6 separate regions of the Homo sapiens genome follow, and regions 1, 3, 4, 5 and 6 are each linked to region 2. Evidence: promoter capture Hi-C in 16 types of primary human blood cells and fetal thymus (Javierre and others, 2016). All regions are on one chromosome and are shown on one strand. Each heading gives the region's core, a stretch centred on a gene start or on the middle of the fragment in contact. The rest is flanking DNA. Distances are from core to core; before and after follow the strand shown.

Region 1 (4,707 bases), core at 134-2,633, 730 kb before region 2:
ATCCAGGGATATTATGTATGGCGACCTGGTGGTTACTCTCCAGACAATTTTTAAAGTCTAGGATGAGCCTATATACAATGCCTAAAACAGTATCTGGCAAGTGTTTGGCTTGGTAATGGTTGATGTTTGTTGAACAAATGAGTGAAAGATAAAAATCTACCATCATGCAATTATCTACATTCTCCTGAAGCTAATCTTTTGTGTTATGTATCGTGTATGACAAGTCTTTTGTTCTAAGTGTATTACATTGTCTTTTTTCCCTTTTTTCTTTCCTTTCGTTAAAGTGTATTTACATTGTCTTAAAAATTACTTATCTTAAGCATCAAGAGAGTTCTTTTCCAACTTTAGTGTTACAGAATTTGATTTGATTAGTCTTAAAGCATTAGACAAGGAGGGAATGATGTACCCCCTCATTTGATGTGCTCCCCACCCCAGTTGAACCCCAGTCTTACTTGGAAGTGGAAGGATTCTGGCTCAGGTTGTAAACAGTAAACCATAAGAAGACAAACTGTTTTGCAGAGTATTTTTAGTAAGTAGCCTGGCCTACCTAAAGGATAAATGTTAATTAGTTATGATTTCTACTTAACATATGGAATGTTACAAGATTAACAGGAGCAGATAAGAAAGAGAAGCATAATTGATTAGTAATGCTGGTAAAAGGTTAATTACAGGGAATGATCTATTTCTATGAGGTAATGATTTATTACATAGATCCTAACAAAGCTTTTATAGTATATATTAATAGCACTTTGAAAGGCCTGAAGGGACTAAAAGAGGAAGGACACAGAAGCTACTTCCTTTGGCCAACAGAGAATTTGTTGACAGAGAAACTCACTACCATATTTTACAATTTCCAGGAACTGGAAGCAGTTGATTAGCCACATCTGTTGTGAGTATGGGTGTGAAGTGAGGAAGTACTTTGCCATATATTCGCTAGTCCAGTACTTTGCCATATACATATATTTCCTAAACCTTGCAGGAATTTGGCTTATTCTTTTGGGTAAAAATGCAATTAAGAGAAAAGATCTAACTGAAGTTTTTAAATGAAGAAATATACTGGACAGCGCAGGACACACGAGAAGGTCCTCAGATGAAACAACTCTATGCTAAGGCTATGAAAGTTTGACTCCAGTGGCCTTCTGAAACAATGCTGGGAATTTAAGATAGGGCTCTAGAGCTTACTTCCTTCCAGTTTAAATCTAGGAATTTGGTCCATGAGTTAATTTTATTCACACTGAGTGTATCCAAAGAAAAATAAGTTTTTCCTGTATTTCATTAGAAAGAATAACAAGTAGCAAACTTTCAGAACGTTTTTTTCCCCAGTACCTTAATCTCAGGTAGAGGAGCATATTTAAGGAGTCATTTTAGATTAAGATTGTACTCACACCTAACCCACATCAGAAAGTCAGTGTTGTTTTGCATGTGCATTGCCGGAAGAATTTTCTGCCTCTGGCTTCTCCTCAGTGAGGATACACTTTCAACGAACTGTAAGCATTAAGAGAATTGCTTTGGAAAGTACTTCAACTAGCAAGAACTGGGATGACTTCAAAATGTCTTTTACTGGCTTCACGGGTACTTATTTTGGCACTTTCCCTGTGGGGCCGCTTCAAGTTGGAAGCCTTCTCTAGAGAAATGTGGAGAGGGCAGCACACTGTCTTCTTTCAGGGGCTTAGAACAGCTCTTTCTTCTTCTTTTTGGACATAGATAAAAGTTTTGTTGTTACAAACCCCAGGCTACCGCACTATGCCTTGTGATCCCCTTTGGAAAGCACCCTTTGATTAATTTTGGCAAGCTGTCTGTTTCCTCCTGGGATCCTGATACATCACCTAATACCACGAAAGAATATGAGGCACTTTTAGTGTAATCTAAGAGTTTTGTACAATTAGAGAGAGAGAGAGCGAGAGAGAGAGAGATTCCATTTCCATTAATGGATTACCTGACTTGAGATAGGCTTTGGACTCAAACTTGGTGAAACTCACCCAATAGTTTCATAGACAGTTATTTTGGATAAACAGAAATTGTCCCTTCTCTTCTTAAAGCTTGAAACTTACATTTGTTTTATCTGTGTTTCTTTCTGAGGATAGGACCCCTAGCCCTCTCAAAAAGTATGAAAGAACTGAAACTCACCAGATCATAGCATCCAGACACTGAGACTCAGGGCCCCTCATTCATCATGATTGCACCCTTATCCCTCCCAGGTTCCTGTTTTTCCGTACATAGTTACACTTCTTTCCTGCTATATAAAGTCCTAATTTTAGTCAGTCAGGGAGATGAATATGAGACTGACCTCCCATCTCCTAGGCTATAGCACTTGATTAAAATCTTCTTCCTTGGCAATAACCATTATCTCAGTGATTGACTTTCTGTGCTGTGAGCAGCAGGACCTAGACCAAACCCTTGGTGTTTCAGTAACACTGGCAGAGCATGGACTATGGAAAGTGGCCCAGGTACAGTGAGAGACGCCAAGGTCTCTGCTTGCCCAGTGAGATCCACTGCCTGGGAATGGCTTGGTCTGTTGTAGTTACAAATCTTACTTCTCTATTTCCAAGTAGGATCATTTAATTCTGCCACATTTTCCTTAGGAAGCTACCACGAAAACTTTCTACCTTCGTCAGTGTCACTCTCCTTTCAGTGAAGGTTCTTTTAATTCTTAGAATTAACCTAAGGTATAAGACTGTTGCAGCATCCATGTCCTACTCCCTGAAGAATTTAGAATCAAAGTCATCTGTTTTTCAGGTTGGAGGGGTCATTTGAAACTACGTAGTTCAACTTCCTCCTTTCACACCTAAGAAACTGAGGTCTTTGTAGCCGGATGAGGAAGCCTCTCACCTAAACTTCATAGTTAGAGGTTATTATAGGTCCCAGATCCCATGAAAGCCATACTCCTGTTTTACCCAGTCTAATCTTTCTATTCAGGGACCTTGGACTTGACACGTGGCACTACTTAGATAAGAAGCCTGAGGAGCAAAGGCCTCTGTGGAGGAGTTTTGTAGAATGAGATGGGAGATTAGAAGAATACAATAAAGGGAAATGTTTTTAACTCCTGCAGGAATTTTTTCAAGGTATGGTTTGAGGACTGTGGTTTCACCAGGAATCTTACAATAATCCAGTCCCCTAAAATTCCTGCCATTATTTTGTTATAGGGAGGATATTTTCGGCAAATAGGAGTAGAGGTCATGCATGAGACAGCCAGTCTAGGAAGGCAGTTCAGCTCTCCTTCAGGTTTGCTTTAGTCATGCTATATTAAAAGTTGTGAGAATTTTCCCAGAAAAGAAAGCTATATAACAGAATGTTAAAATTGAAATTTCAACAAGGCATAAAGATAAAATAAATGCAAAAATCTCAAGTAAGTTGTTGCTAAGTCACTATATGCAGATGGTACAAGCATAATATCTGGGAATGGATTCCAAACTCTTGGATCCCGTCAGAGAATAAAGAGAGGGTTTTTGTGAGCTTTCCTTAAAAGTGACTAGTAGCTGTGCTATGGGGCCTCAGCTTTTTCCACTTGGGAAAGTTACTGTCTCCTACACCAAGCCCAGCAAGCTGGGAGGGGCTTCCGTGGGACTACTCTTAAAGAGCTTAAGTGTGTTTGCAGTATGCCAGAGCACTCTAGACAAGTTGATTCTCTCCTGAAAAGTCTAAATACAAAAGTTGGTTCATTAGGACTTTGATGGTCAGGCCAGGAATTCGCTGTTGCGTGGGGACAAAGATGCTTTGGCAATGTTGCATGGGGGCAAAGATGATCAGGCCAGGAATCCACTTTGCATGGGGGCAAAGATGCTTCATTGTTGCCTGTGAACCAAGGGTTGGTGATGGGGGGTAGTAACTGGTGTATAGTCCCTCTGCTGGTGGACCAGAGGCTAAAGAGGGGTGGGCATCCTGGGGAATGAGGAGTATCACTTAAGTCTTGAGAGTTGATGTTGGAGATGTCTCCTATGATGGGATGTTCAAAGAACCCATAAAATTGGCTCAACTGCATAACCTTCGCTATCTGCCATGCCCAAAGAACAGGAAGTTGCTCAACAAACCAAATCCCCCTACCTTTCCTCTCTGCCTCACCTAAGGTTATCAGAAAGAATATAAGGCTCAGTTAGATTTGAATTTCAGATGGACAAATAATCTTTGGGACATACTTATACTAAAAAATCATTTACTATTCATTTAAATTCAAATTTAACTAGGCATCTTGTATTTCTATTGACTAAATCTGGTAACCTTACCCCCACTCCACCTTTCTTTGAGCAGCTGGTGAGTAGGTGAATAGTGAGAGGAAGGAAAGAACGAAATTGACACTGTGTTTTATGCTTCAAAGCTCTTCCCAAAGAGTAAGAAGAAAAGTCAATGGACCTGCCAAATTCTTCAGGCAAGGGCAGAAGAAGAGTGCCCTAATGAATAAATTTTAAAAGGTTAGAATGGGAATAATAAATAAAAATTATGTTTTGCGTATACCACAAATCTTTGTTAAATAATCCAGGTCTGTCTGTCTAACTCTGTTTATTGAGCTGTTCCTCTTCAGGACCATAATTATTAATTTCTCTTGGAATTAGTACTTTTCAGAACATATTTAGGGAAATTTTACCTTATCATATAACTAAAGGATTGTATTAGAGAATCTTGGCAAAGCTTTGGTGGGGAACTAGTTTATAAGGTAAGTCCTTTAGGATTTCAGGTAAAAGAAAATTCAACTCAAACAGGCTTAAATAACAA
Region 2 (4,888 bases), core at 1,725-4,224:
CTTGAAGACCCAGTTAAAATCATCCCTACCAGGAAGCACTTCCTGGTCTCCCCTATCACTTCTAATGAGTCCATTCCTTGTATGCTTATAAACTGGGCTTAACACTGCACCAGTGATTCTCAAACTGGGATCCACAGAACTCTGGGAGTTTTTGAGTTTCCTATGAAAACTTCAATTGCAGTTTTCCTTTTTATCATCTAAAATAAATTAATATAAGCATTTCCTGGAAATGGTCAACCACCTAATATGAGTACAATCAAGCAATTTGAGTGCCTACGCCTAAGTTGGGATATACAATAGTGTTGATGCTAATAGGCCTTCTTTAATTGTGACAAAGAAAGAATACATAATGAAGTGTTGTCACCAACTGAAGCCCATATAAATCACAGCACACCATAAAAACAAAGATTTTCCTATGGTTCAAAACAGTAAAATATTGGAAGACCTGTATCAAGGCATGGCAGCTCCCCAAAGACCTGGTGTTTGTCCCAGTACGCATTTTGTGAGCAGGCAAAAAAACAGTTTCAGGATGTTGTAAATTCGACTTTTACGGGTCTCATAATTATGTTTTAGTTTATTTTTTAATTTTGTACTCCTCTTCATCTAAAATCATCACTACAGAAGGTATACCCAGCTCTCATAATGATAAAAGTTTTTATGCCCACAAAGAGAAATAGCCAAAATACTCTTTCATTTTGAAATAAGATCACAGTGACAAATTGCAATTCTGTTTCCAATCTTGTTAACATCAGGGTGTTGTGTTACTGGGACATTCAGTACTATAAAGCGGTTCCATTTGTTTTATTAAACTTTCAATAAAGGCTTTGTGTTTGTTTATGCCCTTGAAATGAAAGATTTAAGCTCATTTAAAACAGTAAAACACCCACATAAAGGGTCATCTGCTATCCCCCTAACATCTGGCAAGTTCCAAAAAAGATGAGAACAAAATTAGCGTTGATATAAGCACAATTAAAATCTTCATCGTTGAAAAGCCATAATTTGTGCCAATCTGGAGATGATGAGAATAGAGAAGTGGTAGGTGAACAAGGAACTAGTTGCTGGAGGGGTCAGCTCCAGTCAGTAAAGAAATTAGAATTGAGAAGTGCCTTAAAAAGCCAAAATAGGGCAGAGAGGCAAGCAGGATTTCAGGCCATTACTGACATGAGCCTGAATTTGACCTGCTTACTCCTTTCTAACACTGACTCTCAAGTTCCCAACTTTTGCTGCGCCTACTTGGGATTTCCTTGCAGACTGCGTTCATATTATCCAAGACTGTTAGTGCTGTTACGGCGGTGGCAGGCACCACAGGCTGTCTGCCCACACCAACAGAACTAGCTGACACCCTGGATGAGATCTGTCAGACTTAAAAACTATTTTTAACTTCTGTGTAACTTTGAATTTTAAACTCTCAACAGTCAGAGCAATAATAGCTGAAACGTCCCAGGAGAATAACCACTCAATTATCGTAGGAGCTTTCTTGGAAACATGTGGCATGTTATTAACAGACGGTCATAATGAAAATGTTTCACAAGCGGGGAAACCGAGGAACACACAAACGACTAAAATCACATCACAAAATCTGAATACTAATGGAATTGGCTCACTCTCAGTTCTGTTTCCTATCCATTTTTTTTAAGCCCACCAGGAAATCTTGAGTCCGAAGTAAACACGGTTTTCTGGAGTGTGTCCTTCCAATGACAATGGTCATTCTAGTGCAATCTCGGGAGAAGACAGTGTAAGCCTCTCATAAGTTTAAGAAAGCGAGCTGCGTTTTACTTAACCCCTCTTTCTTCGGGGGGATGAAAAGACTCAGAAACAGGCATTTAAATGAGGCATGTCTAAAATTTTTTGATTTTTGAACATGGGAAAGTGAAGGAAAGATAAAAATATTACAGAGAAAGGGTACATTTTGATTACTGAAACCAAGACAGCTGGAAACCTGATTTCCAGAATCTGTTTGGGAACTTGAGGCAGATGTTTCTAGGAGAGATGAGAAATAAAGAAGGGTGGCGTCATTTACATGTCCAGTCCATTTTGGTGAAAGTCTTGGGAACGCATTATCACAATTCCTTTTAAAAATCATTTTGAGAAAATTTAAATAAGATGGCAAAAATACCAGCTGAGGGGGTGACGCCCCAAAGCTTTACCTTTTCCACTTTTGCCCCGATCTCCTCCCACACAAGTGGTGCTGGGATCGCGCCCCCAATTCCCCTGGCCGACGGCTCCGCTCGGCTCACAAGTGTTTCCCATTACTGCAGGCGGGACGCCGGGGAAATCGCTTTTGCCACAGAACTTGGAGAGTAGAGCGTGTGTGGAACGGGAACCCAATCACGTCCGGGCAGGGGAAAGTGGGAAAGGAAGAGCGCGGAGCCAGGCGGGGATCGGGGGATATGCGTCCGGCTGCCGGGCAAGAACTTCACCCCGATTTAACCTGCAGAGGAGAGGCGAGTAGTGCGGCACGGGAACGGGGCAAGGAGGAGGAAACTTTAGCAATGGAGGAAGGAGAACAGAAAGTGGCGAGCGAACTGCAGCCTGGCCCAAGAGCGGCCCGCTGCCGGCGGTCAGGCCGGGAGCCTTCATCCCGCGAATATGTGCAGGGCCCCCCCGCGACCCCCTCCTCGACTCCCACCTGGCAGCGGACCGGCCTGGAGCTGGAGGCGGGCTCGTCCCCGGCCTCTCCTCCTCTTCCTCTTCCTTGTCCCGGGAAGGACTTCGGGGAGCGAAGAACCGGGAGAAGCTGTGCCAGGGGGCGCTGCCCCTTCTGCGGCCGCTGGACATTTCCCGAGGGGGCCGCTGGCCCGGGGCTGTCTGAAGGGAACGGCCTAGGTGTTGCCTGGTGCCCGGAGCCCGACCGGGCGCCGCGGGATGCGGCTAGGGCAGACCGACTCGACGCGAGCTGCCAGCGCGGCTCAGTCTCTCTCGGGCAGGAGAAGTGCGGACGCGACGCGCTCCTCGCGCGGCAGCTCCTCACGCCGCTGCGGCTGCTCCTCCTCCCGCCCTCGCCCGGCGCGGCCCGCCCCACCCCGAGGAGGAGCCAGTGGCCGCGGCACCGCCCTGAGCCGGGCGCAGCCGCCACCGCTGGGGCGCTACGTGGTCCCCCGAAGGCGCCGGCCTGAGAGCCTGAGGGGAGTCGCCCAGCGTGCGACGCTAGGCTCGGGCTTACGGCTCAAACAAGTTCAGGCTGCAGCCTGTTGGGCTTTGCCTTCAATTACTTTCTGTGACCGTTGTGTTTTCTATTCTACAGTCAGAGCACAGAAACGGTTTTCTTCGGGCTTTTGAAAGAGGTTTATGAACTAAGGTTTGTGAAAACACTTGGCAAACTGCAGTACCGGGGCGCCCCGGACTTGCTGGGAGCTAAGAAACAGCTACCGCAAATACAGCTCCAACCCTGAGGGCGAAAGTCGCGTTAGCACAGAACCGGGCGGCGGGAGGGAGAAGGGGGTACCTGTCAGGCGGTCACCACCTCCCGGCGCGTTCTGCTGGCTTTCTGTGGTGTGACTTTTCCTAACCGCGCTGTGCTTCAGACTTTTCACACGCCATACTTCCCTGCGAACTCTTTCAAAAACGGCACTGATCAAAAAGTATGATTTCAAGCTTGTCAATGCTGCAACATATTTTGCAGTCGTTACACAGATGCCACTGAAATCTGGGAACCAAAGGGTGCTTAAGACTTGTTTTAAGTCTAAGTACAGTGGTATGGATTTTTCTTGGTTTTTCATACCCTATAGCAGCTAGTACAGGAGATACTGAGAGGCCCATTCACCCCAAGTGTTTTGTTTTTGTTTGAAGGCAAGCTGCCCCTGGAGTAGACGTCAAGGAAGTGATATGGCTTTTGTTCATTAAAAAATGTATACAAGTAAATGAGATAAAAATGAAATGTCCACAGCAGAGGGGAGCCTTGGAGTAATCTCCCCTCTGGCTTTCGGGTGCTGGAGGAGAAGGTTGCTCATAAGTAGATTGCATACCTATAAGCCCCAAGTCCTTTCAGCACCTGCTGGAGGCTATTGAGCCTCCCTGCCTCCCCACGCTGCCTCCCAGAAGCCCTCCAGCTCCTACTAACTGCAATAGAGCCAAGACACTCATTCTCATTTGTTCTGGCAGGATTTAACCCATTAAAGTTCAGTCAGCCCGATTTCCATCAATCGGGTTCATCTCAGTCTATCCCTCAAGATTAATCCTTTTTTACTCTTTGGTAAATTTTTCCTATTTCTCTGTGAGCCTAGTCTGAGAAAATAGAAAAAGACTAAGATAATAGACTAGAATAAGACAAGTTCCCAATTCTAGCTTTATTATTTTATAAGAGAATCTCCACTGAAGACCCACTTACCAAAAAGCCCAAAGAGAGTAATAAAGCAAACTGTTTCTTCCAGCTAAAAGGCCCAAATGATAATTTGTCTTCCCAACGTATTATTGAATGACTATCACATTTGTCCCTGACTTGTTCTGTGATCAAACCAGGCCCCAGTGCCTACCCAGAGGGTACTTCGTTCAGGAAGTTTTTCTTGGAATAAAAATGGGGGGGAGTCAATAGGATTTAATTAATGAATTATGGTTTTAACTAATAATATATCTAACAATACTCTGATCTCCACTCGGTAGCACAGCAAAGCACTTAAGTGAATGGTAAATACAAATAATGCCATGTTTACACTAAGACAAATTGCGTCTATGACAAAATAGCTTAAAGTCATAAAACAATGACCATTGAATTTTCCTTCATTTGCTTTCTGAGCACTTATTAGTTTTCTATATGTCCTACATTGTTATAACCTGAACTCATATGAACAAATTTCTAAATACTAAATTCTAAGATTGCATTAGGAAGCCTGTAAAAATGTCAAATTTTAGAGCTGTAAGGATCTTAGAGATACTAATTTAGCACAGTGTC
Region 3 (4,710 bases), core at 17-2,516, 750 kb before region 2:
TCTACTAAAAATACAAAAATTAGCCAGGCGTGGTGATGGGCGCCTGTAATCCCAGCTCAGGAGGCTGAGGCAGGAGAATCGCTTGAACCTGGGAGGCAGGGGGTGCAGTGAGCCAAGATCGTGCCACTGCACTCCAGCCTGCGCGACGGCGCGAAACTCTGTCTCAAAAAAAACCAAAAACCAAAAAACTACCTTAATACAAATTCTGCTGAAAGTACTTTTTGTTTTTTAATGTGTACTTGATCTTATGTGCTATTCAACGTGAGTGTGGTGCTTAAAAATAATGTATTCCTAAGAAGCAAAAATAAGGACCTACTTTCATCTTTACCTCTCTGCCACCCACCCCGACTCTTCATCTTAGTAATGTGTGGGAGATATGGTATCTCCCCAAACAGCAAGAGGCAGTCTTCAGCTGACGTGCCCTCGTGTGTGGAACAAAGACAAGCCATCGTTGCTGTGCCCTATCAGAATCCCTGACTCACAGAATCTGTGAATGTGATAAAATGGTTGCTGTTTATATGTCATTAAGCTTGGAGTGGTTTGCTAAACAGTAATAGATAATTGAAGCAGATTAAATGTCATTAACAAAAACGAGAAGAGCAGTTTTGAGGTGCTTGAAATGCTTGCAAGCTACCTGTACCAGTATTTAGAGATGTGAACTCAGGAGAGCTCAGTCTAGAAACACAAGTCTACCAATTTTGTAAAAGTGATAATTGAAGAAGTGGAAGAAGGTAAGCCACCCAAGGAAGTGCATGCAGTGTAATAAAAGAGCATCACAGACCGAACTGGGGGCAGAGAAATGAACACGGGATGAGGTATCAGGAAAGACAGCTAGAAGCAGCTATCTGAACAAATAGAATAGGAGGAAGGAAATTTAAAGAGACAAGTGGGATGTGATTGTAATAAAGGCTCAAATATTACAATGGTTGTTTCCAAATAGAAGATGTTAACATGATCTATACTCTATGTTAATATGTTTAATAAATTGGGATTTAAGTTAACACTTAAAAATGATCCTAGTTTATACATTATCAAGGTCTTCTCAGATACTAAAATTTAGATGATAAAATTATCTCCATTAACATACCAGGTTGTGTCTTCAGTTTCTCAAGAATATGAAATTCTTGAAAGAACCAGTAGGTGGAGCAGAAAATCTAATCTGCAGGGGGTTTTTTGTTTGTTTTTTTTTGGCAGGGAGTGGAGGAGGAGAAAGTAAAGAAAAGCAAGGAAGGAGGGAGAATGAAAAAGTGCTGGGAGGAAGAAGGAGAAACGAGAGAGAAGAGGTGGAGAACAGGACAGAAAAAGAGGAGAGGCAAAGAAGGAGGGAAATGAGAAAATTATTTGAAATCTGACTCTTGTTGAACTATGCTGTTGTTGGACAGATTATCTAAAGGAGTTATTACATATTTAATCAAGCATGGCTAATTTGACTATGCTGTTTATGTCTTGTCAAATGTCTCCACTGTGTTTCATGTCTCACTTTATGATTGGGAGATTCTGAAGTTGGCAATGTCTACAATTCCAGTAATGTTGAATGTCTAAATGCTTAGCATCTGAGTTCCTTGGCCATCTCTGAACTGCGAGTTGCCTGAGAAAATGTGAACATTTTTGTCTGAGAATGAATAATGTTAATTTGACTCTCAGAGGAAACATAATTCTAAAAAGATTGAGGACTATTCATCTAAATGTGTGTATTCAATTTAGAGTTTATACCCCAGGGGGTGTGTGTGATTCAGTGAAGACAGGTAGGAAAACATTTTTATCATTTCAAAAGCTCTGTTTGTGTGTAATTTTATTATGTCTACAATACATTAATTTAATTATGTGGGTATTTCACAAATACACACATTTTGGGTGTAAAAAAATCAGCAGCTTGTAATTGAAAAATTGCTTATTCAAATAGTGTATACGTTTTTACAATTTGATGGACTAAAAATGAAAGTGGAGAAGAAAGCAGAATGTCTTGATAAACCAAAGAAAGAATATAATGACCATAAAGCTTGGCTTCTTACCTCTGGCCGGAGTTACAGGGCAGGAAGTGAAAGGATGCTAATTTCCCATTGGTTTTAGAGAAAACTAATGGACACTGTCTAAAGAAATGGAGAATGAAGATGTTAAATACAGTATAGTAAAGGTAATCAGTAGACTAGAAATATAAACCAAACTTAAGTGAGAGACTTTAAACTACAAATTTAGAAAATAACAAGAACCATATGATAAAGCTATAGCAAACATACCCATCCTATCAATCAATAAAAAATGGCATACATATCAATAAATAAAAGTTTCATAACATACTGTTAAAATATTTCAAGTGGGACCATAAAGAAATAGATGCTATAAAAAACAGATACCTTTAAGACAAAATACTTCAGAAAGTAAAAAATGATAGCTATACCAGGCAAGTACAAACTTAAAAAAATGAAGGAGTTATGATACTCATATCAGCCATTATGGAATTCACATCTAAAAGCATAACATAAGAAAAAGAAGAGTACTTAAAATGTGAATGTAAAACGCTATAAATATCAATGGACCAAAGTACATAACTATATTCACAAGGAGAAAAAAATCCAGGAGCTAGACTGATGCACACTTGTAGTTGTTGAATTATTTCACTCAGTCCCTGACAGAGCAAGTCAGGGGAAGCACATTAAAGATGTAGAAGATGTAAATTACATGAGTAACAAAGTGTCTCTAACTTATATATATTTTGAACTCTGAACCCTGAAAATAGAGACAACCCTTCCAAGTACCTAGGGACATTCATAAAAATTGACAAAATTCTTTTCTAAATTACAAACTCCATAAGAAATTTTAAAAAACAGAAACTATACTGACAATATTCTCTATAATACAACAAGACAAAAATGAACAAGCAAATAAAAAACTAAAAACTCCAACATCTTGTAAATTACAACAGCTTTTTTTCTTAGCCCAGTCTTGGATCAAAGAGGAAATATAAACCAAAATTACTCATATCTAGGAAATACTGATAATATAAACAATACCTACTACACCCTATGAGACATAACTAATACAGCGTTTTCTTTTTTTTCTTTTTTCTTTTTTTTTTTGAGACGGAGTCTCGCTCTGTCGCCCAGGCTGGAGTGCAGTGGCGGGATCTCGGCTCACTGCAAGCTCCGCCTCCCGGGTTCACGCCATTCTCCTGCCTCAGCCTCCCAAGTAGCTGGGACTACAGGCGCCCGCCACTACGCCCGGCTAATTTTTTGTATTTTTAGTAGAGACGGGGTTTCACCGTTTTAGCCGGGATGGTCTCGATCTCCTGACCTCGTGATCCGCCCGCCTCGGCCTCCCAAAGTGCTGGGATTACAGGCGTGAGCCACCGCGCCCGGCCACAGCGTTTTCTTAAAGCCTTAAATATTTATATTGATAAAGAAGGAAAAATGAAAATAAACTATTTCTCAATCAAGAAATTTTACAAGACAACCAAGCAAACTGAAGAAAAGGAAAAAGAGAAATTAGCAGGCAGAAACAAGATAAGGATCTTCAGTATCACTACTATTATTCAATATTGTATTAGAGATGCTAAGCTAATAAGTTTAGACAAGAGAAAGAATTAGAAATACAAAGATTAGAAAAGAAGAGGTAAAATTGTAATGATAAAATCTAGAAGCAACCCAAGTTTAATAAATGGAAGAATAGATAAATAAATTCTGGTATATTAATAAAATGAAATGCCCTAGACTCATGTTATGTGTATATAAATTATAGAACTGGGAAAATTAATATGGATGAATATCACAGACATTGAGTGAAGATAAAATAACCTGCAGAACAATACATGCAATGTGGTTCCATTTGTACAAAATTCAAAAGATGCAAAGCTAGGCCATAGGCTATTTAAAGATACACATAAGTGATAAAACTAATGAAAAGCTAATGACAAATACCAAATTCAGGTGAATGGAGAATGGAACTGAGGCAGGATTCACAGATGGCTTCAAAGTTCTTAGTAGTGTTCTACAGCTGGATTCTGATATACAAGTGGCCATTTCAACATTTCAATATATTAATAGGATATTTCTTAGTATCCTCATATTTTATAAATATTAATGTGTATATCAAGTATTTAATTAAAATCTTTTAAGCTATGATCAGAAAAACTCTTACTCTGATACTAACATTCACTTCTGTGGGTTTTCTTGTTGGCATCCTGATACATGTTTCTTTAAAAATCAAGTATTTTTCCCACGTATTTAAATTAGTGTGTATGCTTTGTGGAAATCTTGGAAAATAAACAATGGTATTAAGGATATAATTACATTTGATTCCACCACTCAGAAGTCACCATAAATACTCAAAATTTTGGTATATTTCTTTCTAGGTATTTTATGCATATTTTAATGTAGTTAAATCATATTGCATATATAATTTTGAATACTCACTGTTTTCTTTTTTATGCCTTAAGCATCTCCCCCTGTTATTTAAACCTTTCAAAGGCAGATAATCGACCGGGGCTGAAAATAAGGGGTTTCTTGAAAGTGAGCAAGTGAGCTACTGACTGAGGGCTCTAGCCCATCGGCTGCCCCGTTTCTTTATGGGAACTTGGTCTCCAGCTGGGCAGGAGATTCAAGGGCTTTTTTTTTTTTCCAAATAAATAATGAATAGTTCTAGAGAAAAAAAAAATACTGCTGTAGGCTTTGACATTTTCACTACAAAATGATTAACTCTTTTCTTTGCCCCTAC
Region 4 (4,827 bases), core at 454-2,953, 970 kb before region 2:
AACTTGTCCGAAAGCATTAACTGCCTTCAGCATAAAATTTTCTTTATCCTATGTACCATTGTAACCTAGGAGTCATTCAGCCTCATTGATCCCATTGCTTTTTCCTTCTCCTTGCCCCTTTTCATGTCTTCTACTTCCTTTCTTCACATCTTAAGAGTCCTTCATCCGTCTTTATAACCATTCCTTTATATAGACCAGCTCTTCTGCAGCCATCACCCACAGAACCTATATTACCACCTGACAAACTCTTATAAGAGGAATAAGCACTGCAGTCACCCTGTACCCACACCCCAGCAACAGAATAGGGCAAGAGAAAAATACGTTTACCTGGTTGAATGTTGAATTTATGACCCAACTCTCAAACAGGCAGTAAGTATTGCCTAGCAATCCAGTTACGTTTGACTAGTAAATTTCCATTCCTACTCTCCAAGATGAGAATTTATAACTTTGTATCCTGCAACAGCCCTAGTCTTCTTCCTAATTTGACTAGTTAATCTTTATTTTTTTAAGGAAACAAAAGCAGTCAAAAGAGTGGCTTCATCATCCCAACTCCAAATCTACCATCTTACCTGTATCTTTACTCACATTTGCAGTGCTTATTCCTCTTATAATGGATGAGATGTAACTTCAGCAACTTTTCACTAGTGTATATTTTATCCCATATCACTTCTCAACAATTTTACTTCTGTACTTAACTACTTTCTCCCCTCATCATCAGTGTTTCTTTCTGCTGAACCATTCCCTTCAGCATATACACAGACCAAAAATAAAACACGCTTCTTCGATCCTATATCATCTTCCAACTATTGCTTCATTTCTACGATCCTTGTTCTAGCAAAAAGTCCACTAAAGATTTGTTGCTGCTTGCTCATGTCCCAGGTTCTCTTCAACCCAATTCAAGCAGGCTTTTTCCTTCTTTCTTGTTAATATATATCACCAATATGACCTCCACGTTTCTAAAACCAGGGTTTATTATTTACATTCAACCTCTGGACAGCATCTGACATGGCTGACTTCTCTTGAAATACAGCATTTGATTTCTGGGACACCATGTCCTACTGGGACTTTGATGTAGCTACAGCTAGTTCTAATGTCATCACTAAGTATGCTCAGGGTCTTCCTGTGCTTTTGGAATTAAAGATATTACCTAAAATGAAGAAGCAAGAGATATACCTGATCATACTTCACTTAGGAATATAGGAAGTGAAAACTCACAAAACACACATTCAGAAGCTGTCCTTTACCCTCAAAATTACTAGGAAGTCAGGTTTAAATTTAAAACATGTATGCTTTTTGACTTGAGCATTCCACTTCCAGAAGTCCATCCTACAGAAATCCGACAAATGGGCAGAAAACCCCTATAAACACATGTACTGCTATATTATTTAAAGAGAAGAAAATGTTGGATATATCTGAGTGTCTATAAATAGGGGAAGAGTTAAATAAAGAGAAAAAAGAAAATAACAACAATACCTATGGTATAATCATAATTATACTGAACAAACAAAAAGATTATGTGTTTATGAATGCATAGCAAATAGTCTGGAAGCACATAAAAGGTAGAAAAGCTTGAGAGGTTACATGGGTTGTAGAGGGAAGAGAATAGACTGGTGACTTCCTTTTTGATTTTTAATATTCCTTTATTTCAGTGTGCAACACTAACATTTGTTTTCAGCATATAACACTTTTGAATTTCTTAATCACAATTCTTATCATGCTAAATATACATCATGAAAATACATGATGTATATTTATTTCTTTGGATTTTTCCCTACTTTAAAAAGGGGTGAAAAACTCATTTCAACCAAGGTGTCATGTTATACAGTTACTCAAGCTTCCAGTAAAAAATATCTCTGCCACTGTATGGGTCTAGAGTATTGTTTTCTAGGGAAAGAAGGCAAACAGGAGTGAAAGTCAATGAGATTTCATTTTGAAGTTTCAAGAACTCTTTCAATATTGCTGTAGCTACCATTTCTTGAGAATTTAATGCCAACATTTCCTCTGACCACAGAAATGTTTCTGGACTACTTTATTGTCCTTCCTCACCTTTCCTCTGGCTTTCCTGTGATATTTTTATCAGAGCATCTCAGACACTTCTTTTTAGCCTGCAAAGCCATGCACTTGGCCTGAAGCCAGGCCAGCTACTCTGAGCACAAGCCTGCCCGTCAGCCCACCCAGTCAGACTCTCCTCACTGCAGAACACTGAAGACAGAGTTATGAAAGATAAATTGTTTCGGCATGCACAAAGAGACCCCAGGAAGGCCCTACAAGGGCAGGAAAAAAACCCAACTTAAAATTACATTTCCTTGCAACATAAATGAAAAACATAAAGATAATATCCATAGATAACTACTTTTACTAACTCAGAGATGGCCCTCAGAAATCATCTCATGAGCTGTGGTTCTCATACAGTTTCTGAGAGTTCCCAGGACCCTCTATCCTACCTCAGCCAGATCTGTAGTTTGAAACCATGCAGAGATAAATACATACCTGATTTTTGGGAAACACTTTTGGAAAATGAAGCAGTTCATAAGCTGCTGTTCTGATAATGAAAGGATCTAATATTCGGATTTGATAAGGTTTATAAATCAGGTTTAAGGCTGGTTTCTTCCAAAAACCATTAGTGTTCTGAAAGTAAAAAATATAGAGAATAGAACAGTGTGGCTGTCTGTTTTTTAAGGAAAAAAAGCACTAAAGGTAATCTGAAGGCAGAACAATTTTGCCTACTTACTATTTTGTCACCCATCAACAATTCCAACAGCCACCTTAAATCATGTGGCTTAAAAGCAGTGAGAATCACTGTCGTATTAGGGTCATTGTGAATAGGATCTGAAAAAACAGATTCTGGATAAAAAAGTCGGAAGGTTGTCCTTCTCCCAACTTCTTCTTCATGTCCTAAAACAGGACCATTATTCATTCTGTGGATAGTAAAACATACAAGATATGTAGACCAAGTGCAGTATCTGCCATTCCCATCACAGTTCTCAGAGGTTTCAGAGTTGGACAAACATCAGCCTTTTATCCTGTGCTCTGAAGCCACAAAGCAATAGATCAATCTTTCACACATAATGGCCAAGGAGATCATTCCTTTTCATGAAATAGTTGGTTGATCAAAGGCAGAAATGTTCATTTGTATTTGAAAATTAATTGTGGAGCCAATGATAATTCAGTCTTACCTCCAGGGGAACTGAAGACTAAATTTAAAAAAGTGGGAACACAGAGCCACAGGATACCAGAGTTGAAAGAGAACTTGGAGGACAAACCCCTGGAGAGAAAATTACTTGCTCAAAGCCACACAGTCATGTAGCACATGGATGTGTGTGACTGACAGGTAAGAAGAATCACATTTAAGTTGGTTTAAAGACCCATCAAAATTGTTGTACTCTGAAATAAGGTTAACAATATAAATCTGCTATATTATATTCAAGCACAACCAAATGAATGTCTATTGCTAGAGTAAACTAAAGAACCACAAAGGATCTACTGTTGGGTTTGTGTATGCTGAAAGCCAAGGTTGGACATGCACTATTTATGCACACATTATGAAGCCATGCTATAAAAAAAGAAATGCTTTGTTTCCAAAACAGTGTCCCCAAAGAGATAAATACTGTTTTGCCCTTTGCTACTGACTCTACGTAATATAAGACGAACAGACTTATTAACACTTGAGATGACTTTCAAAATGTTGTACCCATGATATTTTCCTGCAAGGGTTTCCTGTGGCTCTAAATTATCAGATTTAGACAATTATGGGTAGAGAAACCTGTGATTGCTTCAAAATTGTTTTGTAGGTAAATTATCACAGCTTCCTCAAAATGGATAGTAAACAGAAAATAAGGTGACCTCACCATGCAGAAACCCTAGGCAGCTTGTAACCCCACAAAACCCCCAAAGCTGCCAAACCATCCTAATGTATTGCCTCAGTATGCTAACTTTGCCATTCTTTAAACTATTCATAGCTACTCCTAACACACACACACACACACACACACACACACTTATCCCAGATGATGACCTTATCTTGACCTTTCACTAAAAAAATAGAGATAGAAAGGTCCGTATTTTCCCCTCACTACATCAGAGGGACTCTTGGTAGTTGTAACCACAATCCTGGCTCTCCTTTCCATTATGAAACATTAACCACACTTGTGTTCTGAACCCCCTTCCCCTCTCTTTTACCACCCCAATCTCTTTCTCATTTCCACCAGTTAACCAATGTACTATAGTGCCTCCAATCTTTTCAAAAGAAGAAAACAAACAAAAAAAAAACCCTGATTGCATAACCATCTCTAACTGCCATCTGATTTCTCAACTCCTCTTTGAAGCAAAATCCCTGGACTACATTGGTTTCTCTACATCTTCATCTGTACATTCAGGTGTACATTCTCTGCATTCCCTCTTCGACCTAGTCCAGCCGGGCTTCTTGCCACATCACGCCTCTAAGCCTGCTTTTATTGGGAGTGTCAATGAGCCTCAGGTCACCAGTCCAATGGTCACCACTCTGTCCTTATCTTGCATGACCTCTCACCAGCACTGGGATACAGTTGGTCACTCCTTCTGTCCTGGAACACTTTGCTCTCTTGGCTTCTGTGATCACCTTCTCCCGATTTTCTTCTTACCTCACTGGTGGATCCTCTTCATCTCTTTTACACATTCCTTTTTCTTTGCTCAACCTCTAAATTTTGAGTTCTCTGAGGCTCAGTCCTCACTCTCTTCTCTCTCTCTCAGTCTCTCCTTGGGAAATCTCACCCAGTCCATGGTTTAAATACAGCTTATAGGCCACACACCATCAAGATTTTAACCTGTTTATCCAACTGCCTACTCGAC
Region 5 (5,055 bases), core at 2,448-4,947, 940 kb before region 2:
CCTAAAACTTTAGGGCCAAAACTATCCACCTGGCATTGGGTTTTTTCCAGTGGCCATTTGCCTAACGTCCTTCCATGAAAAGCATTACAATTATTTTTCAATCAACCAGTAATGAAATCAAATGCAGAAGCATCAGCTTTTTTTCATCAAGTAAGCACAAGTTAGAAACATGATCTAAGATGTACTATGAAACACTGGCAAAAAATACTGACTCTTTGTCTAAGACAGGAAGTTATGTGATTTATTTTAGCATAATTATGTACTGCCACCCGCTTGGGATTTAAAGGTCATCAAAACTTTTTTCCTAGCCAAAGGACTGACAATGAGAAGGTTAAAATCCCTATTACAGAGGCTTTCTCTTCAGTAAAACTATCTGTGCCTCTTCAAAGTTTTATATGTGGTATTTCAAGTCAAAGCTATTTCAGAAGATACATATATCATCGTTCACCAAATATATTTAAACAAAGGAAACCATATGTAATATCTGTATTTTATCAATAATCTCTTAAGCAAGCATTTTAGGTTCCAAAAGTACCACTGAGCCCAGTAATTACGCCATTAACTCAAGGAGATGATCTATAGCATAAAGAAAGAATGTTATAACCCAAAGATGGTTAACACCATGGCTTCCCTGGGAAGTCAATAGAAAGTAGGTGTTGCTTGTCAACTTTTAAATTGTTCGAGATACAATCTATAGGATACTGGAATGGTAAAACCCCAATTTACAATGGAAAGCAAGAAAATATTCAAAATGGTACAAGTTTTTTTCATAGGACCCTCTACTATAATTTGTGGATTTGTGTGAAAGACTAGGTTGAGAGTTATTTTTAAATAACAAAATGAAACTTACCAATAGACATTCGTTCCCCATAATATGCAATGCAGTACATAATAGAGGAAGACAGCACTCAGGAATATGGCCACAAGATACCCTCTCATGGCTGGCTCACCTGAAACACAAGGAATGAAGTCCAAAGCAAAGGCCAGGTTGTTATACAAATGGATTTTCACAATGGCTCAAATATAAGCATTATTGGAAAAAATATACAAAAGGAACTATAGAAAAAAATGATGTGGGCATGTAATTTTGGAAATACTCACTAAACGTGCAGAAAGATAATGTTTTTTCTGTCTCTCCTTTTATCAATAAGCACAACATAATGTATGTTTAGGCCAATAAACAGTTCCACGGTCTCAAAGGTAGGGGCCTCCCCCTACTACTTTCTCATGGTAGGTAAGAAAGAAATAATTCCTTCAGAATAAAATTTTACACATCTATTCCATATCCAAAACTTTTTTCACAAACATTAAAACCTATCTATTTTCTCTCTCAGTAGAAAGTGAATAGATGCCTTAAACTGTGAATATTTCATTTCTTCAGTGCTTGAAATGATGTTAAAATGTTATACATTATAATTTTTACAAGTCATTTTCTAATTTTTAACTGAGGAAAAAAGCTACTGAAAAAACATTTCCCTCATCCTCAATTTTTATATACTTTTAGATCCACCTATTTGATTTTTCCACATCACAGTTCAGGTATATTCAGCTACTTGCTTGTTTTGTATTAAATTGACAATATTATTCATTACACATTTGCAGACAGACAAAAACCTTGACACAATCCTCTCTAAAATGTAAATGCAAAAAAAGCCTTTATAGAATATATTTTAAAAACCTATAAAACATGTTTGGTTTTCTCTTTTGCTTCAAAGGAAAAAAGGAAAAGTTTCCATTGTCTTATGTAATTAAATGTAAAAGACAAATTTAACATATGGTTCCATAATAGACCTATTTCAACGCCTGTGACTTTAAACAGGTACACTGCTTCTCTGTCTCCCTTATCAAGTTTCTAGTTCGTCTAAACAACTGCATGTGCCACTCCTTTCACTCCTATCCATGCCTATTAACCTCAATCATGGCGATGCAGTATAGAACCTGGGAGTCTGGTTGAATAAATTTCCAAATAATATGGCATTGCCTTCTTTTTAATGGTAAATATGTTCAAATGGAAATCTTAAAATAAACCACTCCCTTTGCCTTCATAAGTAGAATATACTAAACATAATTTAAACTTTTCTTGATAATATGGGGTCAGCTCAACAAATATAATTGTTCTGGGCTTTCTTACAGTTGAAACCCTCTGCAGCTAATGGGTGTGTGGGGCTATTTGCTAAGCAGTCCTAAACTGGCATGATTATCTGGTTGAGTTGCTTTTCACTCCTCCCTTGCTGTCAGCTGTTGGTTCTTGCTGCTATTAATGCAGTCACCACCCCCACATGCCACTATTCTAAATTAGTTAGAAATGAAAACTATGTCAGGAGAAAGCAAATAAATAAGCAAGTTAATGAGCAAACTTTAGTTCACACATACTTCTAATTAGGTATACATAATCCCTGTGAAGAGTCAACACTGGTTGGAAATCAGAAGACAAGATTCACAGCCTAACTCTACATATGGTGTGGGGACCCTAAGGTAAATCAGTCTACCTCTTCTGACCTGAGGGTCCTCATGTGTTTACAAGTGAGAACACACCATCTACCTCTTTGGGTTATTAGATGGTCCTGGAAGGCAGTTTACCATGGGCCAAAATAGTGAGGAACATCTTATTAAATGCTCAAATCAAACATTTAAGGCTCCACTAAGAATAACTTCATTTGGCTGGGCGCAGTGGCTCATGCCTGTAATCCCAGCACTTTGGGAGGCTGAGGCAGGTGGATCACGAGGTCAGGAGTTCAATACCAACCTGGCCAAGATGGTGAAACACCGTCTCTACTAAAAATGCAAAAAAATTAGCCGGGCGTGATGGCAGGCACCTGCAATCCCACCCATTCAGGAGGCTAAGGCAGAGAATTGCTTGAACCCAAGAGGCAGAGGTTGCAGTGAGCCGAGATCACGCCACTGCACTCCAGCCTGGGCGACAGAGTGAGACTCCCTTTCCCAAAAAAAAAAAAAAAAAAAAAAAAAAAAAAAAGAATGACATTTATGCAAAGATCCAACAAGGATAAAACTTACCAGTATCAGCAAAATTTTTTAATGTATTTACATCTAAGACAGTATATGAAGGTCTAGGGAAAGAAGTCAGTATTTACAAGTCAAAATTCCTATGTATTCTCCAAAACATACTCTTTGGGCAATTTATGTATTATTCTACAGAACACGGAGGTATGGGTAAGCGAGACTTGTGTTATTGTTTTGTTGTTTTTCATTCACTAATATGTGGTCTAATTAAAAACAAAGAAGTGTGAGAGAATGCTCTGTTTTCAAACAATAAAACGAACCCACTCTTGAACAGCTACTGCACACGCCACCTGAAAAACATTTAGGAAGTTAAGGCACTATCGTATTTCATGTACAATTCACAGCTTCAGTATTCAAGTTGCAAAGGACACGGGCCAGCCAGGATATCCTTGTGATAAACATGGTTCCTCTGCTTGCTCACAGGAAAAAGCTTCCACAAATAAACCAATTATCTAATTATATTGTATAAGTGGAAGGGCATTTTGCTTTGAGCAAAAACATTCAAAGAAAAAAACAGAATTTAAGAGGTTATCTGCTTTTAAAAAGACATAAGGCCCTTTAATATAGCTTTGATTACCAAAAAAAAGAGTTTTCAAGATCTTGACATTAAACAGGACCAATGCCAGCTTTGTGGCTGCAGATGCTCCTAAAATCAGGGTCCCTAAAACATCCTTTACAAAAATGTGGGTAGAGGATGGCAAGGGAAAGAAGGACTCACTGGCAGAGGACAAATGTTCACATATTCTCCAACTAAGATATGTAACCCAATGTATAAGTAACCTATATATGCCAAATTAAACTCAATCTTGACAAATGTTTCACTTTGCTTTAATAGTAAAAGCATATTTTGTGTGGAGCATCAAAGTTCATAAAAAATCTTTTATATGTCCATCCCTCCATTTAAGGCTCAAAATAAGCTTGTTAGATGGGTGTGCAGGTGTTGTCTTCTTGATGAATGAGGAAAACTGAAGGTTTATAAGGTTGAGTTGTCTGAGGTCACACAGTTTAAGGAAGACAGAAATAGATTTATGGTTCAATCATTTCTTTCTCAGAGTTCCATTCCTGGTGTTATCCTGTCTCTCAAGATAAAAAGCACAAGGCAAATCTAAAAGAGATAATTCTAATCTGAAAATTCCTAATGGTGTTCCATTGGTATCTTGAAGTCTAGAAGGGTAAATTCAGATATTGGTGAAAGGAGGTGACTCTAGGGCAGGCTCAAGAGTCTGCACCAGGCGGGGACTTGTTAACATGCACACTCCTGAGCCTCTACTTAATCTGAATCTCTGGGGCTCAGGAATGTGCATTTAAACAGCATCCACCAATTTGATTCTTATGCACACTAAAATTTTGAGAATCACTGCTCTAAGAAATACAATAGAACCATGGAAGAATTTCTGAAATACAGAGACTGTAACAGATACAGATCCCATAACTAGATGCTTTGTATTATTTTTTTTTACCCTAAATGCCTAGCACGTGGTAAATGCTCAATGAATAACAACTGATTAGAAGCATTAAGATGTATGAGTGCTTAGCCTGTGCCAAGGCATGTGATAATTGCTTTTGGTGTATTACCTCATGACATCCTGACAACCACCTTGCAAAAGAAGTGGTAGACTTACAATTCCTATTTTGTAGAGGAGGAAACCAAAACTCTGGGAGAAGCAACGACTTTGTTGAGCTGACAAGTAGCAGAACGAGGACTCAAATCTGTCTCTATCAGGCCACAGGCCATGCGTTATACTACCTCCCCCTAGATGTGAGCTTTCACAAGTGAGCACAGGCCCCTCCTTTTGCTACCAGACTAAACATTACTGAACATTTCTCCAACTTAAGCAATCCTGCAAGCTCCTTAAGCAATATCAATTCTAGTAATTGATGAAATGGAGGTAAAGCTTATAATACTTTTGATTCAAACTCAGCTGAAATAAAAGCCTGTTACTCCCAACCCTGTTCCCAGTTCTGCTCCTCCCAACCATGCTAGCATTGTTTATAAAAACAAACTCTACGGAGAAACACTTGAAAAAAATGTCA
Region 6 (5,102 bases), core at 2,598-5,097, 530 kb before region 2:
TGAGCCGATATCATGCCATTGCACTCCAGCCTGGCCAACAGAGTGACATTCCATCTCAAAAAAAAAAAATTATGTTATATCATCAAGAATGAAGGGAAGGGGAGGTGTTTAATAAATAACTTAATATTCATTTACTGTAATGGGAAATTGATTAATATGATTAAAACTGATACTGAGAAATATAAGGATAAATTTTCAGAGAAATCGTTTAAAAAATTAGAAGGTTGTTGTGGATGAAATACCTAAGTCATGGTAGGCAAGAGACTGTAGTTTTTGGAATTCACCTTTTAGTACTATTTTTAAATCGTATTGTAAATATACATTAAAAAATAAAAAGGAGCAAAAGCACAGAGACGAGTTTGAAGCTAATGATATTGTTCAGGTGAGAGATGAAATTATGTACATGTGGTGTAAGTGGAGAGATTTGGCACATTTAAGATAGACTTCAGAGACTAAGTTGACAGATATCATGAAAGTTTGGTTGTGATAGGAGACAGAGTTGTGTGGGGTTCTCTTAATTTCTGCCTTGCCCAGCTGGTTGGAGGATGTGACCATCATAATGGAGAAGACCAGGGGAGGACCATGTTTAGTGGGAAATTCAAGACTTGTGCTTTGATCATGTTGAATTTGAGATGTCTTTGCAACATTTAAGTAATTATGTGAAGTAGGCAGTTGCACATGTGAGACTGGAGAGCAGGGAGGATATCAGAGGTGGAAATATACATTCTGAGCCATCTTCATATTGATGAAATTAAAGGCCAAAAAAAAAAAAATAGATGAGGTCACATAGAAAGAAAGAATAGAGTGAATAGATATTTTATATATAAATGTTATAGAACCCTAACAATAGACTTTAGGTAGAAGCATAAGAGTCTTCCTCAATTATAACTTATAGCTTTTTAGTTTGATTGCCTTTTAAAATGTCCATCTTCCCTCCTGAGACAGAAGTGTACGAACTAGAACCGTCTTGTTTTTGTTGTACAAACGGGCTAGAAATAGACCTCTCTGTGTATGCATGTACATGTGAATGTATGAGCATAAATGTACAAAAAGGAGACATAAGAAATCAGTTAGAGAAGAGTTTGTCAATAAATGCTTCTGGGACTACTGGTTAGCCATAAATCAAATTTTAATTCTCACTTTATAACATTATAAAATAAATTCCAGTTGGTTGCTGTATATTAAAAATCAAACTATGAAAAATGAAGGAAATACAAATTTTGTCTACAAATATATATCTAAATGACAGGAAGATATACATTTTAACATGAATGGAAGAGATAGTTACCCAGTTGTCCCACGGCTACTGAACAATCCTTTATTTCCTTGTTATTTGTGATGCCCTTCTTATTTTATATGAGAGTTTACTTTTGAACAATCTGATTTGTTCTGTTGGTTTGTTTATTGATTCTTGATTTAAAACCAAACTGTTATCATTATTGGAATTTTATCATATATTTTAATATATAACACATAAGGTATTTTTTTTATTTTCTAGAAAAATCTAGAATATGAAAAAATTTTAAATTCATTTTGCCAGGTTCCCAAAGAAGTTCTCCTGAGTGTTTATTTGAATTAAATTAGTTTATAAATATTTTTTAGAGAAACAGCCAAATAAAGTTATATCTTTAATATGCCATATACTAAATAAATTCCAGGAAGAATCAAGAGTCAAGTTGCAAAAATTTAAAATATCAAAAAAGGAAGGAGGAGGAAAATAGGGAGAAGGAGAAGAAGAGAAATAAGAAAAGGAGAAAAAGAAATATTGGTTAATAGTAGACTGGATTAAAAAAGAAATTCTGGATGAAATGCATGAAAGAGATCATAGAAAAAATAAGTAAATATGAGTATATTAAATTAAAATATTTATAAATATCAGAAACAAATACTAAGACTATCAACCCACAGAAGAATTATTTGCCACAAATAGTTGTGATGTCTTTTCTCTGTAAACAATGATATAAATAAGAAATAAAACAGACAAAACAAAAATGACAATTCATAAAAGTAAAAATGGTCAATAAACACATAAAATATTGGTACAGCTTACCATTACTCAAAAATAAAACAATGTCATTATTAATATGTTTTAAAATGTTTAATGAGTGTTAATATGTAAACTGTAGTTATATATAATACATAGCCAATAACATGGTTGATGCCTTCAAGAATGAAAAGGAACTTAATTATGCTTCTGGCTAAAGTAGACCTTAATCTACTCTGTCCAATTTGTTATAAGTCACAATTAATTATTCTGCAAAATAGAATATTTTGTAGGTGAGCCTCTTTGCATGTGTGTATGTGTGTGTCTGTGTCTGTATATGTCTGTGTATGTGTGTGTGTGTTCCTTTTCATTTTTTTTCATTCTTGCAATCTTATCTAAATAAAACTTCATTACCTTAAATATAAATTACTGCAATTAGTTTGCTTCTAGTCTTTTCCACTCTAAAGTAATCCACATGTGTCTCTCAGGTCAGTTTTCTGAAAGAAAACTATCATTTCACTTTTCTGCCAGGAAATTTTAAATGTTTCAAACACGCTACATAGGATTGGATATAATGTCTTCCATTAACTAGGAAACATTAATCAAAGAAGACTCTTCTACACATTTAAACATTTAACTTTCATGCTATGTTGATTAATTGAGGTTTAGGATAATACTCTCTGACAATTCCATGAGAGTCATGAAAGGTAGTAATAACAGTTACCAGTGAGTTTCCCCGATTCATTCTGGTTGTGGGATTTGGATAAAGATTTGTGAAACAATTTTGAAATTCCATTGATATATTTTTTAAACAAACATAGCCTAATGATTTATAAGCTTACATTTTGTGTAAAATCACATATTAATTTTTCTATGTTCCCTCTTTATGAAAGCATTTTAATAAATTAAAAATAAATTTGCTATAGAGCAAGTTTGTTTAAGAATGTTATAATTCCTCATAATTTTTTTAAGAACATTTATGACCTCCTTATTTCTCAGACTATAAATAAAAGGGTTTAGTAATGGGATTACTATTGCATAAAATATTGCCACTGGTGTATCTTTATCTCCTTCTTCAGATGGTCCAATATACATGAGAAGACAAATGTAAAATATTGAGACAGAGAGAAAGTGGGATGCACAGGTAGAAAATGCTTTACCTCTTCCCTCCTTGGATTTCATTTTGAAAACAGTCAAAAGGATGCAGAGATAAGAGATCAAGACAGTAGCAATGGTAAAGATTTGAATTGGTATTGAAAAGATATATATCATTAGTTCATTAATAGAAGGATCTGTACAGGAGAGTCTATACAGTGGAAGAATATCACAGAAAAAGTGGTGAATTTTATTAGACCTGCAGAAAGTTAACCTTAATAAAAGCCCTACATGAATCATGGAATGCAGGTTTCCAGCTTTGAAGGCCCCTGTGGTCATCCGAATGCAGAGCGTCTTGGACATCATGGTGTGGTACTGCAGTGGGTGGCATATGGCCACATAGCGGTCATAGGCCATTGTCGCCAGAAGAAAGCAGTCTGTGGTTTCAGCAAGACAGAGAAAATAAAATTGTGCCATACATTCATACAGGGAAATAATTCTATCCTCAGAAAAGAAATTCTCTAACATCTTGGGGGTAACAGCACAGGAACAGCAGGAATCCATCAGAGCCAGGTTGCCCAGAAAGATGTACATTGGTGTGAGAAGACGACGCTCTACATAAATTAATGCCACCAGACCAAGATTCCCCACCATGGTGACCAGATAGATGGCAGAGAACACCACAAACAGAAGCGTCTTCAGCTCTGGATAATTTGTAAATCCTATGAGGATGAATTCAGCTGCTAAGGAGTGATTTTCCCTAGCCATTCCTGGCTTCTCTTCTGAGACATAAATTGTAAAGAAATGTAAGATTCCAAAGCAGAATGTTTCTAATTCTCACCCTCTAATTTCCCTGTATACAAAAGGGAAGAAAGTCTTCTTCAAATTATCCTGTGCCATCTCCTAAACACTAGCACACTCACTGTGGGTCAAATCAAGTGAGAAAAAATGTATCATGGATTGTGTACCCAGGGCTTGTCTGAAAATATCTGTGTGAATTCCTAGGGCAGGAAAGCTTTATCTGCATGAATTATCCTATGCCGATGTAAAATCTGTGGTCAGTACATATAATTTTCCATTTCCAAAATTAAGACATTTTCTTATGGTATCTTTTCCTCCAGGAAAAAGTAAACAAGTTTTAAATCGTATCCTATTGGATCAATGTGACGCTTAAAATGAATTACTCTTAAGGCATTTTAAATGTCTACATTTTAAAAACTGCACAGAAACACAGTGATTTGAAGAATGCTTTTGCTAGCTTAGTAACCCTTTCCAGATAAGGTCACCAATTGCATATTTTATGAGATATCTACTCATCCTTTTAGAGAGGATAAGAATATGAAACATCTATGAGTGTTCTTAATCATTGTATTGGATATCATTTTTATGTTCATTTCAACATATTCTAGATACTATTCCAATCTTGGTATGACAAATTTCCCAAGGAGTTATTACTCTTAATTGCTCACTTATCCTAATACTTTCTGTCTCTAGTTTTAAGAGTTTTACATGCATGTCCAACATTGTAAGATTTGGTGGCAAAATCTCCACTCATAATGTGAATATTCTTCATGGTAAATATCTATTTTGTATTCACTCAAACATCTCTCATAGAAAGTAATGTCTTCATTTTCAGTGAGTTCTATGGAGGTTCTCCATTTATTTACTTGAGTTTTAAATTTATTTAAATTTACAAACTCATTATCTACTCTTTACTGGCTATATATTTATTTGAGTTTAATGATCAACTAAATTTATTATATAGTTCTTATAGTTTGGCAACTGTACATTAAAATATTTCAGGTACAGAAACAATTTGAGTTTTAAAGAATAATAAAATTAACTTTCTTTTCTTTTAGAAGTTTCTAAAAGTCTTTAGCCTTAGCATACTCCAAACAGACAATTTTGGAGAAGAGCCTACGATAGTTAATTCAAAGCACATTTTTTTTTTTTTTGAGACAGAGTTTCAAGCACTTCTCCTGCCTCAGCCTCCCGAGTAGCTGGGATTACAGGCATGAGCCAC

What was found. The method cuts DNA at HindIII sites, captures the fragments that hold promoters and counts their contacts. A CHiCAGO score of 5 or more calls a contact.
Region 1: a contact is called between a fragment that was not itself captured here and the fragment with the promoter of CRYBG3 in region 2, in 1 of 17 cell types (activated CD4 T cells). The highest score is 5.9, in activated CD4 T cells.
Region 3: a contact is called between a fragment that was not itself captured here and the fragment with the promoter of CRYBG3 in region 2, in 4 of 17 cell types (activated CD4 T cells, total CD4 T cells, naive CD8 T cells and 1 more). The highest score is 7.0, in activated CD4 T cells.
Region 4: a fragment that was not itself captured here is called in contact with the fragment with the promoter of CRYBG3 in region 2 in 1 of 17 cell types (M1 macrophages); the score reaches 5.4 in M1 macrophages.
Region 5: a contact is called between a fragment that was not itself captured here and the fragment with the promoter of CRYBG3 in region 2, in 1 of 17 cell types (monocytes). The highest score is 5.4, in monocytes.
Region 6: a contact is called between the fragment with the promoter of OR5K4 here and the fragment with the promoter of CRYBG3 in region 2, in 1 of 17 cell types (activated CD4 T cells). The highest score is 6.4, in activated CD4 T cells.

What each region holds. Positions count from the first base shown.
Region 1 is chr3:98,550,117-98,554,823 of GRCh38, reverse strand. No RefSeq gene overlaps it. Among named protein-coding and RNA genes, the nearest start is that of GPR15, 20 kb to the right of the region's middle. RefSeq lists an enhancer at 2,669-2,718. The HindIII fragment of the contact is 1,316 bases long and covers 726-2,041 here.
Region 2 is chr3:97,820,097-97,824,984 of GRCh38, reverse strand. CRYBG3 (crystallin beta-gamma domain containing 3) reads right to left here and starts at 2,974. Exons shown (of 22, transcript NM_153605.4): 1 at 2,630-2,974. The coding sequence starts at 2,778. It overlaps LOC101929298 (a long non-coding RNA gene), which reads left to right and starts at 3,209. Exons shown (of 3, transcript XR_427389.3): 1 at 3,209-3,298. RefSeq lists a silencer at 2,828-3,197. The HindIII fragment of the contact is 1,453 bases long and covers 2,144-3,596 here.
Region 3 is chr3:98,570,055-98,574,764 of GRCh38, reverse strand. It overlaps a transcript of CPOX not described here. Among named protein-coding and RNA genes, the nearest start is that of CPOX, 21 kb to the left of the region's middle. The HindIII fragment of the contact is 1,470 bases long and covers 532-2,001 here.
Region 4 is chr3:98,786,127-98,790,953 of GRCh38, reverse strand. ST3GAL6 (ST3 beta-galactoside alpha-2,3-sialyltransferase 6) reads right to left here. Exons shown (of 10, transcript NM_001323368.2): 7 at 2,732-2,918; 8 at 2,491-2,628. Among named protein-coding and RNA genes, the nearest start is that of ST3GAL6, 25 kb to the right of the region's middle. The HindIII fragment of the contact is 266 bases long and covers 1,571-1,836 here.
Region 5 is chr3:98,764,325-98,769,379 of GRCh38, reverse strand. It overlaps ST3GAL6 (ST3 beta-galactoside alpha-2,3-sialyltransferase 6), which reads right to left. Exons shown (of 10, transcript NM_001323368.2): 2 at 851-950. The coding sequence starts at 939. Among named protein-coding and RNA genes, the nearest start is that of ST3GAL6, 3.5 kb to the right of the region's middle. The HindIII fragment of the contact is 487 bases long and covers 3,454-3,940 here.
Region 6 is chr3:98,352,599-98,357,700 of GRCh38, reverse strand. OR5K4 (olfactory receptor family 5 subfamily K member 4) reads right to left here and starts at 3,847. Exons shown (of 1, transcript NM_001005517.1): 1 at 2,882-3,847. The coding sequence starts at 3,847. The coding sequence ends at 2,882. The HindIII fragment of the contact is 1,273 bases long and covers 2,824-4,096 here.